3 separate regions of the Homo sapiens genome follow, and regions 2 and 3 are each linked to region 1. Evidence: promoter capture Hi-C in human tissues and cell types (Jung and others, 2019). All regions are on one chromosome and are shown on one strand. Each heading gives the region's core, a stretch centred on a gene start or on the middle of the fragment in contact. The rest is flanking DNA. Distances are from core to core; before and after follow the strand shown.

Region 1 (5,160 bases), core at 1,964-4,463:
AGGACAATACATGTCTGTCCTTTAAGCCATCCAGTTTTTGGTACTTTGTTACCATGGCCCTAGAAAACAAATGCAAGTATCTTCAAGTATCTCCTACTTCACTGTTGCAACAACAAGAAAGAAAGTCTGTCTTAAAAGCTTAACTATTCTGAGGACTTACTATATTAAAATTTCTTAAGATATCTGCATTTGAAAAGAGAACTGATGAGAGATGGCAATAAGTCAATCTATGATAGAATTTCAGACATCAAGGAAGGGCAGTGCACAGAATCCTGTAAGTCTCTTAGTGCTGTGTATCACTACAAACAAAGGTTGTAGCATTGTCTTTCTGGGTGTCTTTGGGTTTTTACAGATGTCTCAGGAGCAACTGCAGGAAAGGGAAAGAGAGAAAGGCTTAGGGGGATTGGGCTCCGAGACCTCACTCCAATTTCAACCATAATAACTCTTCTATATTTTGGGATTCTACGTAAGATTTAATTTGGAAAGCGTTCTGGTGTTAACACAGAGAGAAAGTCACTGCATTATGACATTATTTAACCCACACTCAGGCAAAGTGGGTTTTTTACCCCTCCACTGTTTCTGCAAAATGTGCCTACTTATATGTATGGGTTTACCATTAAAGCAGAGTTGGACACATAAGAGACACAGCATTATTCTTCCTCTTTTTTGTTTAGCTATTGTGACGGGCATAGGGGGAAAGATTAGCTGCTTTTGCTTTGTTCTTGTCTTTTAAGAACTGAAAAATCAAGATCTTCATGATTCAAAATGTGCTATAAGACTGAAGTAAGAGTCGAAATATCTAGTTTATTCTATTATTTGATGATTTATTGGCTGTCTTTCTTTGTATTTATTTTTTGCCATTGGGTGAACAGAGTAGGCTATCAGGATGTACTATTTGTATTCATGTGATTGAGGCAGAAGCAGTACATGAATACTAAAAACAATTGTAACTGATGCTGGGAGTATATAAAGGAAAGAGTGGCTTGCAATTCTCTTCAATTGTAAAAGCATAATTCTTACACACTTGTAGCCCTCTATACTTTTCCATGTATTTCTCATTGGAAACCCTCAGCCATCCTGGGAGGTACGCGACCTGGCACTCCTAACACTATCCCCTAGATGGGCTCAGAGCCTATGGAGGCTCAGAGAATCCTCCCAGGCCTGAGGCCAGTTAGTGAGCGCGGAGATGGGGCTGCCACAGGGCTTCTGAGTCTCGTGCTCTCTGCGATGAGTCAGTGGTGTTTTGTTTTTTCCTGAGCCGTGAGGTCGAGGGAAATCTTAAAACAAATGGCTAACTAGGGCCTTTAGCCCCACCTTACCTCCACCACTTCCACCATAAAACCTTAAGTCTGTCTCTGCACTTGTCATGTCATTGTGACAAGGAAGGAGTCCCAAGAAACAAACAATGAATACCACCCTCAATTTCGTTAAAAGATTCTTCAGTTAAGCATTTGAATCTCAAAATGCTCTTCAAATTCTAATAGCTCATCATTCATCCACCCACACTCTTCCTTCAGTCAAGACACTTGGCGGCAACGCCACACAAGCAACCCGGAGCTCCGGGGCACTTCTGGCTGGGTGGACCCGGCTTAACCAGAAAGAGGGGATGTTGGAATGTCACAGGGGCTTTCTTTTCTTTCTTTTTCTTCCTGTGTTTCCCCCCGAGAACTCCTTTTTTAAGTTACATGTCCAGGTTGGATATATTAAAATGACGCAGATGAACAAGGACTGGATGGTCGAGGAAGGAGGCCAAATAACTTTTACTAGCATGGGCCTCTGAAAATGAAGCAGGGACAGAGACACTTTGTAGCTCAAGGAAAAGCGGCACGTTAGAGACCAGGCTCCAAGCCTGGGGTCTTTGTTTTTGTGTCTTTTATAAAGTGGCCCATAGGGACAGCAGGCTGTGTGGTGGGAGCTCCTCCTCGCTTCGCGGATTTGGCCCCGAGGGCAGACGAGTCCGGTGGAGAGAAAAACCCTGAACTTCCAAAGGCATCATCCCGCGAGAGGGAGTTTCGGGGATGGCTTTGGGAAAATGTAAAACAAGGAGATGGGGAGCCAAGGATGGGGGGCGGTGGTAATCAGAGAAGCCTTAAAAGAATAAAGGGGAGTCCAGCCCTTGAGCAAGAGTGAGAAAGAGAGGCTGGGTGGGAGAAGATGGGAGCAGACAGGACGCAGCACGAGTGCCAGGGCGCGCATTTGGGGGGTGTCCTGGCGGTGTGGAGAGAGAAGAGAGAGGGCGCGGGTGACATCACGCCCGGGCCCCCTTCCCCTCGCCGGGTGGGTGGGGCTTCGGCGCGCCGGGAGGGCGCGGGGTCAAGTAGGGGGAAGAGGAGGAGCAGGCATGAATGTGTCTGTGTGAAGACCGGGGAGGGGCGGAGGAGGAGGAGGAGGAGGAGAAGGAGGAGGAGGAGGAGGAGGCGGCGGCGGCGGCGGCGGCGGCGGCGGAGGGCGGGGAGGGAGCGCGCGCGTGGCTCGCGGCGCCCGGGCTCCCCCCCAGCCCCCGACCCCGGCCCGCGACGCGCCGCCTCCCAGCCGCCGCCGCCCGCCTCGCAGCTGGGACCCACTCCGGGCTTGGGGACCCGGCGGGCGGGAGAAGCGGGGGCTCCCGGCGCGGCCTGGAAGGAGCGAGAAAGCAAAAGTAAGGCGAGCAGCACTCCAAGTTTTCCCAACTTCGCCCCCTGCGGCGGCAGGCGTCCTGCTGCTCAGCGCGTCCCCTCCGAGCCCGAGAGTGGCTGAAAGAAAAGGGACTGGGCGGGGGCCGGGGCGGAGGAAGAGAGAGTGCGAGGGAGCGAGGAGAGTCCGGCAACATCTGTTAAAACTTGGGGGAGGAGGAGCGCGGGGAGGAGGAGGAAGAGGAGGAGAGAAGGGAAGGAGGGAGCGCGCGGGAGGGGAGCGCGGAGCCGAGGGACAACTTTTCCACCCCGTGAGTAGTGCAGGCGGTGCCAGGTCGGGGCGGGGGGCTTCTCCACCCAGCACGGGGCACCAGGCCGGGATGGGACCTTTTTCCAGAAAGTCGATTGGATGCCAGGAGAGGCGTACGGCTGGGGGTTTCTTTCTTTCTCTTTCCCCTCCCTCCCGCGGTTGAACCAAATCAGAACTGTCACTCAGGGCTTGTGAGTCAGAAGGGATCGGATTACACGATCCCCGAAACTGATGCCGGAGCTGCACGAGCGGGAGGGAGCGGGCAGGGGCAGCGCCACCGGCGCGCTCGCACACTCGCACTCGCGCACACCCGCCGCTCCCACTCACCCGCGCCGCTCTCCCGCCTTCCCCGCGCGCCCCGCGGCCGCCCGCGCCGCACCATGCCCGCGGCGGGCGCACCCCGCGCCCAGCCCGGCCGCTCGCGGTAGCCGTAGCCGCCCGCGGCCGCGCGGAGCGGGGAGCCGCCAGCCTGCGCCCCGTCCGCGGGTCTATGGGAAGTTCGGGGACTTGACAGCCGCTGCCGCCGCAGGTACGTCCCGCTCGAAGTTCTTTGTTTCGCGGACCCCGCAGCCCGCTCCTGCGGCCGCGCCCGCGCCTCCGGGGCCAGAGGTGGTCCCCAGCGTGGGGACGGGATGGAGTGAAAATGGCTGTCAAAAGGCGCCCAGATTTAGAGAGCCGCCGGTGAGGCGTCCGAGCAAGGCTTGCATTCGCTCCCTCCTCCTGGAAGGTCCTTTCCGAAGAGTCCGACCCGCGGACCGGCCGGAGACGGATTGGAGAATTTCACCTCCCGGAGGGGGGACGAAGTTTGCCGCAGTGGTGGCGGCGCCCCTCGCCTCCGCCCCCATCCAAAGGGTTCAGAAGAACTCCGCGAGCCCCGCACGCGCCTGGCTCCTTCCTTTGCGCGGTGGCGCTCTACGGCTCGGGCTTCGGGCGCGCACGGCGCTCGGGATGGGCGGAAGGAGGCGGGAGGCATGGTGGGTGCGCGCGGGGACCTCCGCCGCGGGGGCCGCCGCCGCTGGGGCTTCTCCAGCCCGGGCTATGCTTCGGAGGGCGGGGGTGTGGTGTGAGCGGATGGAGAGAGGCGCGCCTTCGTCGTCATAGAGGAAAAGTGAAAGTTGTACCATCTGTATATGATTTGGGATTCTCTTATTTCTTTTCCTTTCCAGGGGCAGCGCGCACAGACACACAAAGTAACCGTGGTCCATGCAATAATCATTTAAGGTGCCGCGTTTACACAGAGCAGCAGGGGACAGTTACTTTCTTGAGTAGCAGCGGGAAAACGGGCGGGAGAAGGCAGAGAGGGTGTAAATATTGATCCCAAACTTGCAGAGTTTGTGAAGCGACTTTTAAGCAGATTGTCCGAAGCGGACGCTCCACCCCGCACCCGGCCTTTTATCCTTTCCTGAACTTTGTGCTCCTGTCCCCCATTGCACCTCCTTCTGTAAGATGCCGTCCCCCGAGAGGCGCTGCACCCCAGGCTTCCCTGCCTGACCCCGCGTGGAAAGAGGATTAAGGAGGCTCCCTCCGCCGCTGGTCATCCTGCCCCAACTTCTCATCTCCCCAGTGCAGACTGCCGGGTAGATTCTGGCCTTGGGTACAGTGCTCATGGCCCTCTGCCAGTTTATATGTACATATATTTATGTAAAACATTTTCTCCCAGCTCTTTGCCAGCTGTTCCACATTTTCCAGCTGCCACTTCAGTTTGAAATGATGGACTGTCTGCGTCTCCAAGTCAAAGAACCCTTTAGTCAAAGGTATGGAGGGCCGGCCGCTGTGCAAATACATGGCAGTGCCATTAGCCGGGCTGGTATTATTAGTTCTAAAAAATACCTCCTGCTCCCCTTTTCCTCTCCTCCCTCTTCTCTCCAGTTAGGCTTTCCAGAGCACAGTATATACACTTTGCTGAAAATTCGAGTAATTAGGCCTTTCCCTCTTAAATGTGATTTTTGTACAGAATTTGGATGAGGCCGTTTTTTTAGATCCCTGAAATATGTGTCTGGTGGAAATAAATTAACTTTTAAAAATAAAAGAGTTTCAGCTTGAGCGCATTGGGCATGGCGGGTGGGGGGCCTGCACCCTGGCCGTCTGAAATGAGCTCTTTTCAGTCTATTTAAGGCAGGAACCATTCATCCTCCCCATGCTACACTTTTTGTGTTGTTTGATGTCTTAGCATATTATAGACCGAAATCTACAAGAATTGACCTAAAGTATTAATTTTGAGTATTTATGTAATTGCTC
Region 2 (5,160 bases), core at 1,427-3,926, 460 kb before region 1:
AAGGACAAGAAGTTGAATCCTGACACTGTCACTCAATAGATGGGTGGTTTTGGGTAATTTAACCTCTCTGAGACTAATTACCTTCATTTCAGAATTTTTCAATACTAGTCATTAGCACAGCCATGCTATAAAAACATGACATAACATGCTAGGAAAAAAAAATAAGGGGCTTCCAAGCCAAAGGCAGAAGATATAGTAGGTTAAAAGAAATGAAAATAAAATTGTAGACTAGGGATTTCATATTACTTTCTGTCATTAATATTTTTAAATTATTTCTGAGAACACGATATAGTCCATGAGGAAGAAAGAGAGTATAGAAATATGACCTAAATATGTGTCAAATGAACAAAACACAACAGAAGGTTTTGTTGTTGACTGTGACTTAATTAATAGAGGCTTTAATCCTTGTTTTCAGTAGGCAGAATGACTAATTGAGTACTAAAGTATCTCTATTATTTTTATTTCTAAGTTCTCAAATTGTACTGATGAGCGAACTGAGGATATGTAAAACCCAGGGGCAAACAGAATTTCTGGTTGGATTGAAGTGTCTTATAGACCAGAGTTTTATTTTGCACAAGGGTATGACTCTTTCCTAATTTATGGACCCTTCAGTTTTTTGTTATTGCCATGTGGTTTTTAAATTGTATTTTTTAATAGGGGTATAATTTGGAAGCATTTGCTCCTTGGAATAAAGATCTTACCTATTAGATTTGCATTAGTTTTTCAGAAAGTGCATTTAGGATAAATGTTAGCTCAAATAGGCTTTCTTCAAAGTTGGCAAAGACAAGGAAGGAGAGAGGTGCAGTGACCCTACTGAACTGTCTGGCCTTCCCACCTGGGCCTGGCCTCCTTGCCTCTTCCAGGAAGGGCCCGGTGCCTGCAGCAGCCTAAGAACAAGCTGCCTGAAATCCAGGTGGAATAAAGGTATTTCTGTTTCCCATCAGCATGTCTTCAGGGCAGAAATTAAAAAATGAAACCTGAACCTAGAAAGCCTCACTAATGGGAACCCCACATTTGGCAGAGCTTTGTTGGGTTTCTCATGGCCAAAAGTATGGGCAACACTTCCCAGCCTCCTTCCTTCCTCCACCACTTTCTTGGCTGTCTATACTCAGGCCATGGGTAACAATCACTGTTATCTCTACCTTCAACCTGCCCAGAAATTATAGCAGAAAAGATAAGAGAAGTTGTGAAGAATGGCTCTATACTGAAGGTGTACGCAGTTGCCAGGAACTATATATAAAAGCTTTTATGTAATCCCACAGCAATCCTACAAATAGTTATGATTAGACTTATTTTACAGATGGAAAAAAAATGAGGGTTAGAGATGTTATTTTAATTAGAAAGCCAAGGTTGCACAGCTAGTAAGTTGCTAATTGTGAGCCAAACTGAGGCCCTTCTGTTTCCAGTGTTCGAGTGCTTGTGAAGCTGCTCTAAGTGGGCAGGGCAAGTGGGAGCCCTTGCCTCTGCAGGGACAGAGCACTGGGGATGCCTGCATGGTGGGGTGCCTGAAAGTCTCTTGAATTTCTAAGCTAGAACTTGCAAATCTGTCCTTATTTCCCCCTACTTCAGAGTTTGCCTACAATTCAGTTGCCTGCTGACTTGGATGAGTACTCAGGGGAATACTTTTGATTTTTGTGTCCTGGGGCTACCTAGTCCAATAATATGGAGTGCTGTGAGAGACACTAGCATAGCTTTTCATAGAACAACCTTCAACAATGTTTAAAGAAACCTGTAATGAAACAACTTGAACCAGCATTACCCCGTTTTGCTGATTTCAGCAAATGGGCCCCAACTTGAAAACATGTCACTATTCAAAGCTCATTTTTAGGTTGGTTGTTTAAAATTCAGATCACATTTTCAGAAATGGTATTATAAATGGCAGTTAGGCTTCCAGGCTACCTTATAAAAACCTACTTACCACATAACATAGCTGGAATACTTTGTATTTATAATAAAAAATGGTAGAGAATAATACTATTGTAATGCTACAAATTAAAATAAGTAATGATGGTGGGCTAATTAACTTTTATGTAATTCGTGTGGCCTCTAGCTTGAGGAAACACAGTGTAACAGCTATGAGCTTGCTCTGGGGTTAGAACATCTGGTTCAAATACTAGCTTTATGGCCTACTTATTGGTGTGACCAAGGGACAAGGTATAACTCACTGAGCCTCAGTTTACTCAACTATAAAATGGGGATAAAAACACCTCATAGGGTTGATGTGAGCATTAAGTGAGATAATATGTCTAAAGCGTTGGTGTCATAGAGCTTGACACCTACAAAGTTCCTGGGGTATGATAACTGTTGTGGACATGATTGATACCTGCTGATCATTAAGTCCTTCCCACTGAACGGACACTGTGCCAAAGATGTTGCCTACAATTTAAACCTATTAGCCCAGTGAGGAATTAGTCCCATTTTTACAAATGTGTGATTGAGGTGCTCTGAGATTAAGCAACTTGCCCAAGGTCACATCAAAACATGTCAACTTGTCTAGACCACAGGGTACCCAGATATTTGGTCACACGTTATTCTGGGTGTGTCTGTGAGGATGGTTCTGGATGCAATTGACATGTGAATTGGTGAACTGAGTAAAGCACAGTGCCCTCCTCAATGTGTGTGGGGCTCATTGAATCTGTTGAGGGCCTGATTGGAACAAAAGAGCTGAGGAAGGGAGAACTCTCTCTCTCTCTGTGAGTGTCTTTGAGCTGGAACAGGGCTCTTCTCCTGCCTTCAAACTTTGACTGGAAGTTATGCCATCAACTCTCCTGCTTCTCAGGGCTTCAGACTTGGACTGGAATCGCATTATCAGCTCTCCTGGGTTTCTAGCTTGTCAACTGCAGATCTTGGACTTCTCAACCTCCATAATCTCATAAGTCAATTTCTTATAATAAATCTCTTTAGGTAATGATAGATGAAAGATAGATGGAGGGATAGATAGATAGATGAATAGATAGATAGATAGATAGATAGATAATCCTATTGGTTCCATTTCCTGGGAAAGCTTTGATGAATATAGTCACAGAGATGGAAAGTGAAAGAATGAGGCCTGGCATCCAGGTCTATAGGTTTGAAAGCTGAGAATCCTCTGAGGTCTGGCTGTGACTCCCTTTGGGTCCATGGTTGGACAGCCCAGTTCTTACTCTGTGCCGGGTGGCACTGCCCAAACCAGGAATGGGGACTGTCAGGATTATCAGGGCCAGAAAGAAGGAGGAGAAATAGGAAAGAGCAAGTAATCATGTGAGCCAAGGCAGAAATGGGTCCCCAGTTCTTATCAATTGTTGCTTAATTTAACTTTGGAGTTTCACCAAGTTTTATCAAAGACTCCTTTCAACTTCTTCCAAAACTTGATGGTAGGAGCCAAAAGTCCTTCAAGGTCACATGACTTTATGGCCTCCAGCACCATGCCTGGCACATAGCAGGTATACGAGAAACCCCATTAACTCTGAGTAAGATGTCACAGCACTTACATAATTTTTCTGCTATTTCCAATGACTTCAGATTCATTGGGAAGCAGTAATGAAGGATTTGATTTCTAGAGGTCTCTTATCTGTCAGAGCTCCACATTGCCACCACCTACCTTCAAAGTGACTTCTCTATTAGGGAGCAGGGGGACGGTTTCGCTAACCATAGATGCTAAGACAGAAATTTAAAAATGCAGTACTCCCACGCTGAACCCAAGTTCTATGTTTTCCCTGACCAGAAGGAGTCTCTCTCCCACTTTACTCACTTGGCTCCCAGCTTTTCCATTTCAGGAACTGATCCTCACCAGATGGTGTTTAACTATTGTCAATGCAATGATTATGTTTATTTATCTAAATGTCCCTGAAGCTTCGACTGATGAACTTGGCTTTATTCATCTCTCTTCTGACTCAGTAAATTCTCTAGAATATAATATTTACAATCTAAGCTTAATAGAACCTCACGACATTGAAACATGATATGATTTTTTAAAACACAGATTAATAAATAAATCAGTACAAAAATTAAATACATGAGGATGAAGAGAAAGAAAGTGATCACAGAAAATCTGGAAAACAAAAAAGTAAAAAGCAGATGAAGCTTTCTTAAGTAGCACAAGCTAAAGAGAACAATGACCATTGGCACTCTGCAGTCATGCTTTCTGCTCTGTTATTTTTAACTTTTTATTGTTTTTGTTTGTTTGGTTAACATGGTTTCTTTTTCCTTTGCCAATTTGTAATAAATGAAGTAAAAGAGATTTTGTTAGAGTATTAACATGAGGTTCAAAAGTATCTGCTGCTCCTTCTGTTTCTTCGGACCAGCCTCGCTGCCTTCACCACCACCAGTGCCAGCTGCTGTCCTGCAGGCACTGACGCTGCTGTGTGGCCCAGGCTGGAGCTTCCCTATCACCATCGTCTCTGCATTTCTCACTTGTGAAAATCCTGGAAAACCCAGGATGCTGAAAATATTCAACTCAGTGTTTCTCCACTGGAATTCACTAGTTTCATGTTGTTACCTCGGTTTCCTGAAAGGCTGAGGTCAATCTTGAAAAGGTGACAGACAGCCTTATCTACTCGGAACCTGGCTGCTCTGTTCTTTGGAACCTGGCTGCTCTGTTCTTTCGTCCCTTCCACGTGCTTTTTCTCTGTACAGAACTGCTGACACTGAAGCAGATATTTGTACATGGAAATGATACACAGAATGCTGAAAGAGACTGGAATCTCTCCCCTTATCTACCTCCATGTGGCTGCTGACAACAGAGATATATAACTTCTGGGGTACATCCAACACATGAAAGGTTAGAACATCCGTATATAACCCACTACTTTCTTTCAAGAGGAGTTTCCTAATTTTTGCAATCACTTGGCAGGTCTATATTTCACTGCTTTATCCACTTTCTCCCCGCCCACCCCCCAACCCCGCTGATTGCTGATATAAATGTGGGTAGCAAAGGATCATTCCTAAGACTTTTGCCTGGGTTTTATAGTTGCTACCAACAATTTTGCCACAAAAACTACAAATAAAAATAGGCTCTGCAATGAATAAAGTAAACAAGGGGCTTGTAGAACCCCATGAATTGGCGTCTAGAAAATGGGCTTTTCATCTGTGTGCAGGCTCTTGGCAAAATATGTGCATGTTCACTAACCCATATGCTAAATTACTAAGTTTTACCGCATTTTAAATTATTTCACGTCCAAC
Region 3 (5,160 bases), core at 1,975-4,474, 330 kb before region 1:
CTATTTACTGAATAAATAAGCTCTTCTGTTTTAAATTTATTAAATATTTGCCTATAACAACTACGACTATTTTTGCTCATGAATTCACACTCTTGAAGATAATTATTACCTTTAAAATGACTATATTTTAAAAGGCATTTCAGTTTTGTAGTTGTACCGCTACATACCAAGCCTTAGGATGTTTGAAAAAACTGTTCAGTTATGTTCAATATATGAAAAGTATAATTTACCAGAAAGAAAATCTGATGGATAAAAAAGACTCAAAACTATACCAATGTCTTTTTATCCAAAGAGCAACTCAAAAATTTTTAACATTTGTCTTTATGAAGACATGAAATTGTCTATAAAACAAAGGCATAGACCTAAGACCAATGAATGGAAAGTATAAATAAAGCAGAGCTTCCTGAGAGTGAAGCTTACCCTCTGAAGGCATGGAATGAGGTGTGTCCCCCCATCACTAAGTAATCCAAGTGCAGATCAGATCAAATCATCAGATGGAGGTGGACTCCTCACCTGATAGTGAAGGTTCTTTCTAACCCAGCAGTATGATTTTGATTCTGATGATTTAAAAATTTACCTCTGATACACATAGAATTTTAGACCTGGAAAATATCTGAGAAGTTAACACAGAATCTCAGGGTAGAAACCTTGAAGAAAGTTATTGCATGAGCCTTTGAGTATGCCTGTTCGGTTGAATAGCTAGAATTTCTATTATTTTAGGAGAAAGTCCATTTTTTAAACTGAGATTAAGTAGTTTTCCATTTAGGATATTTTTAAATGATTATCTTTGAATGACAAACCTCTAACATATTAAATATAGTTTGAAGTAGAATTCCATAAACATCAGTTTTGCCTCGCAGCTGTTGACTGAGTATTCAGTCGGCAATTGGTAGTGTGTACATTTGGGTTGTTACCCAGCCATCACAAAACCATGAAGTTGCAAAGTTGACCTTTGTTGTCATTTGGTACCCCTTTTCTGCCCAAGTCCTACACCTACCTTATCTGTCAGGGCTTTACAGCTTTCTCCATGATTCCCAGATTCTTCCCTCTGTGATCCTCATCTGTAACCACTCATCCAGTTAGTGTGCCACAAACCTGTGGGTACATGCCAAGTCACCTCAGTTTCTCCAGTAGACTGGTTTTTGGAGACAGATTTTAGACCACATATGTGTAGAGTCATATTTGGGTACAAGCATGCACTTCTGAACAGGGCTGCTACATTCAACATTCCAAGAGTACAGTTTTTGACCATCAATTTCTTTTGCATTACAATTTATAAGGCTTGGACTCTAGGAAATAATCCCAGGACCTTTGTAATTCCTGCTGGGCTCTCTATTCCTGCTTTTTCACTCCATGGTATTCTAACTATTGGCCTATCCCATGCTGTGTTGGTTAGATAAAAGTGTACAAACATAAAAAGTAACAGAAAAGGCTGGAACAATTTACCAAAGACACATCAGTAAGTAAATTAATTCTATATCAAGTAGAAATCCTTGCTTATAGCATTAGCACTCCAGAATTTGTGCAACCCTTCTCTCTTACCTAAACTACATGTTTATTTCTCATTTCCTCAGGGCTCTGCTAAATGAATCATTATCTGATCTCTGAAAAGTCATTTCATTAGATTATTAATGCTCAGCATTATTTAATATCTTCTCCCAGAAAATATTTGCATTTTGAGAGGTTCCCTCAGTGTCTTAATCAAAATATTGATCAATAAGTTAATTTTAGGCATCATTCTGGACATTTAGGAGACATATTAAATCTTAGAGAAAGCCACCTATGCTTAGTCCTATTCTAATTTGTGGTTCTGATCATTAGGAAGTTTTTGAACCCATCCCCAAGAAAATGTTCCAAGCGTGGTTAGTGAGGTACCTGCTTTAGATCCAGTGGCCACAGTTCAGCTTCCAGACTTTATACCCCATGGCATTGTAACCCTGGACATATATATTGGCCCTCTCTCTAAATGATTCTTGCCATGGCAAGAAACATCATTAGAATTTGCCGTAAGTCATTTGTTACAGATTGGAAGTGCCCCACTGAGAAACCCCTTAAATATGAAATATTTATTTACTAAGAAATGCCTGCGTTTTTCAACTACTCATTACAATGGGATTTAGAAAAGTCATCCTGTTGTTGATGACAAAGGAAGTGACACACAGAACGGGTGTGGATAAATACCAGCAAGGGCTTTGCTCTCTCGGAGTTGGCCTAGTGTTGTTATTTGGCAAGCTTTCTTTTTTTCCCTAGCTGGTTTATTCATCTTCTGTTTACAGAATCTTGAGCCTCTATTTATACTTTAAAGGCAACAGAACTTTACTTAGTTTCTAAGGCAGCATTGCCTTAGGAAGATCATAGAACATATCCTGAGTGTGGCATTCGACCTTTAAAGATGGATTTGTTGTTCAACCCCAGAGGTGGATCTCTGCAGCATATTATTTTAAAGAGGGCAGTGTAGTCCACTTCACCGCAACCTAGAAAATAGCAAGCTATTTGCTCTCCGGCAGTGACCATTTTTTCCTAAACAAATGGAGATAATTGTCTATTTAATTTATGACTTGGGGCAAGTCACTTATTGCCTGAAAATGTTCATTGGAAAAGCCTGGCATTTTCAGACTAAAATATGCTATAATTTGGGCCACAGTTGGTTATTTATTTTAATCTAATCATCTTCTTTCATTTTTATATCATCAATATTGATTAAAGATATATATTTTTAAAAAACAGCTTCTTCCTGTTTCTACTAAATTACCTATTAAAGGCCCAGAAAAACATAAACATTCATAACAACAGAGAACATTAGAACTTACAAACAGCCCATTGCCAGAATATGCGGTAAATTTCTACTAATTACAAGGATGAAATAACTAGTTTGAAGTAAAAGGACCTTGATTAGGCCAAAAGCCAAGTGGTGAGTGTCAGAGATTAGGTTTCATGAGTCTGTAAGTAAGAAAAAAAAAAGGGTCCCACCTAAAGCAATACAGAACATCAAAAAATGGAGAGGCATTTTAGGTTAGAAACTTTTAAGGAAAAACAAATCTTATGCAGTAGCAACAACAGGTTTGGAATAACAAGAGCATTCACTAGATATTTGGTAAAATTTTTAATAAATGAACCTATTAGCCAGTCATTGCTAAAAATATCTGGTTTTTGTCCTGCTTTACCTGAGGAAAGTTAATGAAATTGATCTGAAAGAAGATTAAGAGTCTCTGAGAGATACCATCTACTCATCCTGTCAACACTGCAACTTACTATTACAGTAAGAAAATACAAAAGCATCCCTGAGAATAGAAATAAATATATTCCTTAGGTTTAAAGATTGCTAGGAAGAATCTAACGGCATTTTCTTAATATATGTAATAGTTTGGAATATTTTCCATTCTTACTCTAATTAACATTTATGAAATTAACAGGTTAGAAGAAAAAGTTCTAAGGTTTCTCCTTCAAAAATCATGTCCTAAACTTCAAGTTTAAAATTGACCCTCATGGTAGCCCATGACAAAGCTTCTCCAAAATGCCTACTAAATACCCCCAAAGAGGAATTCCACTGAAAGTGATAGCAGTGTAGGTTGTTTCAGATCAACAATCAGGCAGAATACAAGTCGAAAAACGGACAAAATACTTTAAAAAATCTGCTTGAAAGTATCAGAAATCTGTCAAGGTAATGATAGTTTCAAGATCAAGATTTGAAAGAAAAGGGAAATCAAGTGATTGCCAATTTCAGAATGAAAAGCTGTATGTGAATGGCCAAGAGGCTGAGCAGGTCTTTGGCAAATACAATGAGGTAGAAAGACAAAAGTTGCAGTTTAGAGACCAGGAAAGAAAGACCCTGGTAAAAATGCCAGCTTTTCACTTACTATCCTAAAGGCTACATCTTAGAAGTAATGGTAAAATGGAAAGAAGAGTCCTCACAAGGACTGAAACCAAATTTGAGTCTTCTAAGTTTCTAATAGATTAATATAATGTGACTCTAGTTTAGTTGTCTACCTGAAGCAAAAGTAAATCCTATTATTCTTAATGGAACATCATATAACACCTTAAAACTCCATTCTATTTTCTACAACACAATGTCTATACACAAACAAAAATAATCAGGCATACAAGAAGATAATAATTGGCCGGGCGCGGTGGCTCACGCCTGTAATCCCAGCACTTTGGGAGGCCGAGGCGGGTGGATCATGAGGTCAGGAGATCGAGACCATCCTGGCTAACAAGGTGAAACCCCGTCTCTACTAAAAATACAAAAAATTAGCCGGGCGCGGTGGCGGGCGCCTGTAATCCCAGCTACTCGGGAGGCTGAGGCAGGAGAATGGCGTGAACCCGGGAAGCAGAGAGCTTGCAGTGAGCCGAGATTGCGCCACTGCAGTCCGCAGTCCGGCCTGGGCGACAGAGCAAGACTCCGTCTCAAAAAAAAAAAAAAAAAAAAAAAAAAAAAAAAAAAAAAAGAAGATAATAATTAATCAAAGCACAGCAGAAAAACATACAATAGAAATAAATCAGTAGGAAATTTGATTTTGATAAATGATATTTGATTTATCAGACATGAACATTTAAATAACTATGCACATATACTGTGTGAAATGGTAAACTGAATATACTCATTGCCCAAAATTGATAAATAGATTGAAAAACATACCAATCAAAATATCAGTAGGCTTTTCGAATGGAAATTCATAAAATACATAAAATATGTATGGAAATGCAAAGGATCTAGTATAGTCAAAATAATTTTGAAAAAGAAAAAATATTGGAGTATTTATACTACATAAACAGAATAGAGTATGGAAATATACCTATACTTTGTGGCCACACTTATTTGACAATGTGCCAAAGAAACTCAATAAGGGAAAGAAAGTGTTTCCAATGAAACGTTCTGAGGCAATTAGATGTCCACATGGAGAAGATGAACTTCAGTCCCTATCTCACACCACATACAAATCTATTATTTATTTATTTATTTATTTGTTTGTTTGTTTGTTTTTCTTTTATTTCAATAGGTTTTTGGGAAATAGGTAGTATTTGGTTAAATGTGTAAGTTCTTTAGTGGTGATTTCTGAGATTTTGGTGCACCCGTGACCCGAGCAGTGCACACTGCACCCAATGTGTAGGCTTTTATCCCTTACCACCTTCCCACCTTTTCCTCCGGGTCCCCAAAATTCG

The links. The method cuts DNA at HindIII sites, captures the fragments that hold promoters and counts their contacts. A contact is called where the count stands out against the background at its distance.
Region 2: a fragment that was not itself captured here is called in contact with the fragment with the promoter of GLI3 in region 1 in 1 of the 25 tissues and cell types used here (heart left ventricle).
Region 3: a fragment that was not itself captured here is called in contact with the fragment with the promoter of GLI3 in region 1 in 1 of the 25 tissues and cell types used here (mesenchymal stem cells).

The regions. Positions count from the first base shown.
Region 1 is chr7:42,235,262-42,240,421 of GRCh38, reverse strand. GLI3 (GLI family zinc finger 3) reads left to right here and starts at 3,213. Exons shown (of 15, transcript NM_000168.6): 1 at 3,213-3,451. RefSeq lists an enhancer at 2,488-3,469. The HindIII fragment of the contact is 7,383 bases long and covers 1-5,160 here.
Region 2 is chr7:42,699,156-42,704,315 of GRCh38, reverse strand. All of the region lies in intron 1 of LINC01448 (long intergenic non-protein coding RNA 1448), which reads left to right. Among named protein-coding and RNA genes, the nearest start is that of LINC01448, 4.7 kb to the left of the region's middle. The HindIII fragment of the contact is 4,607 bases long and covers 373-4,979 here.
Region 3 is chr7:42,564,322-42,569,481 of GRCh38, reverse strand. No RefSeq gene overlaps it. Among named protein-coding and RNA genes, the nearest start is that of LINC01448, 140 kb to the left of the region's middle. The HindIII fragment of the contact is 3,800 bases long and covers 1,325-5,124 here.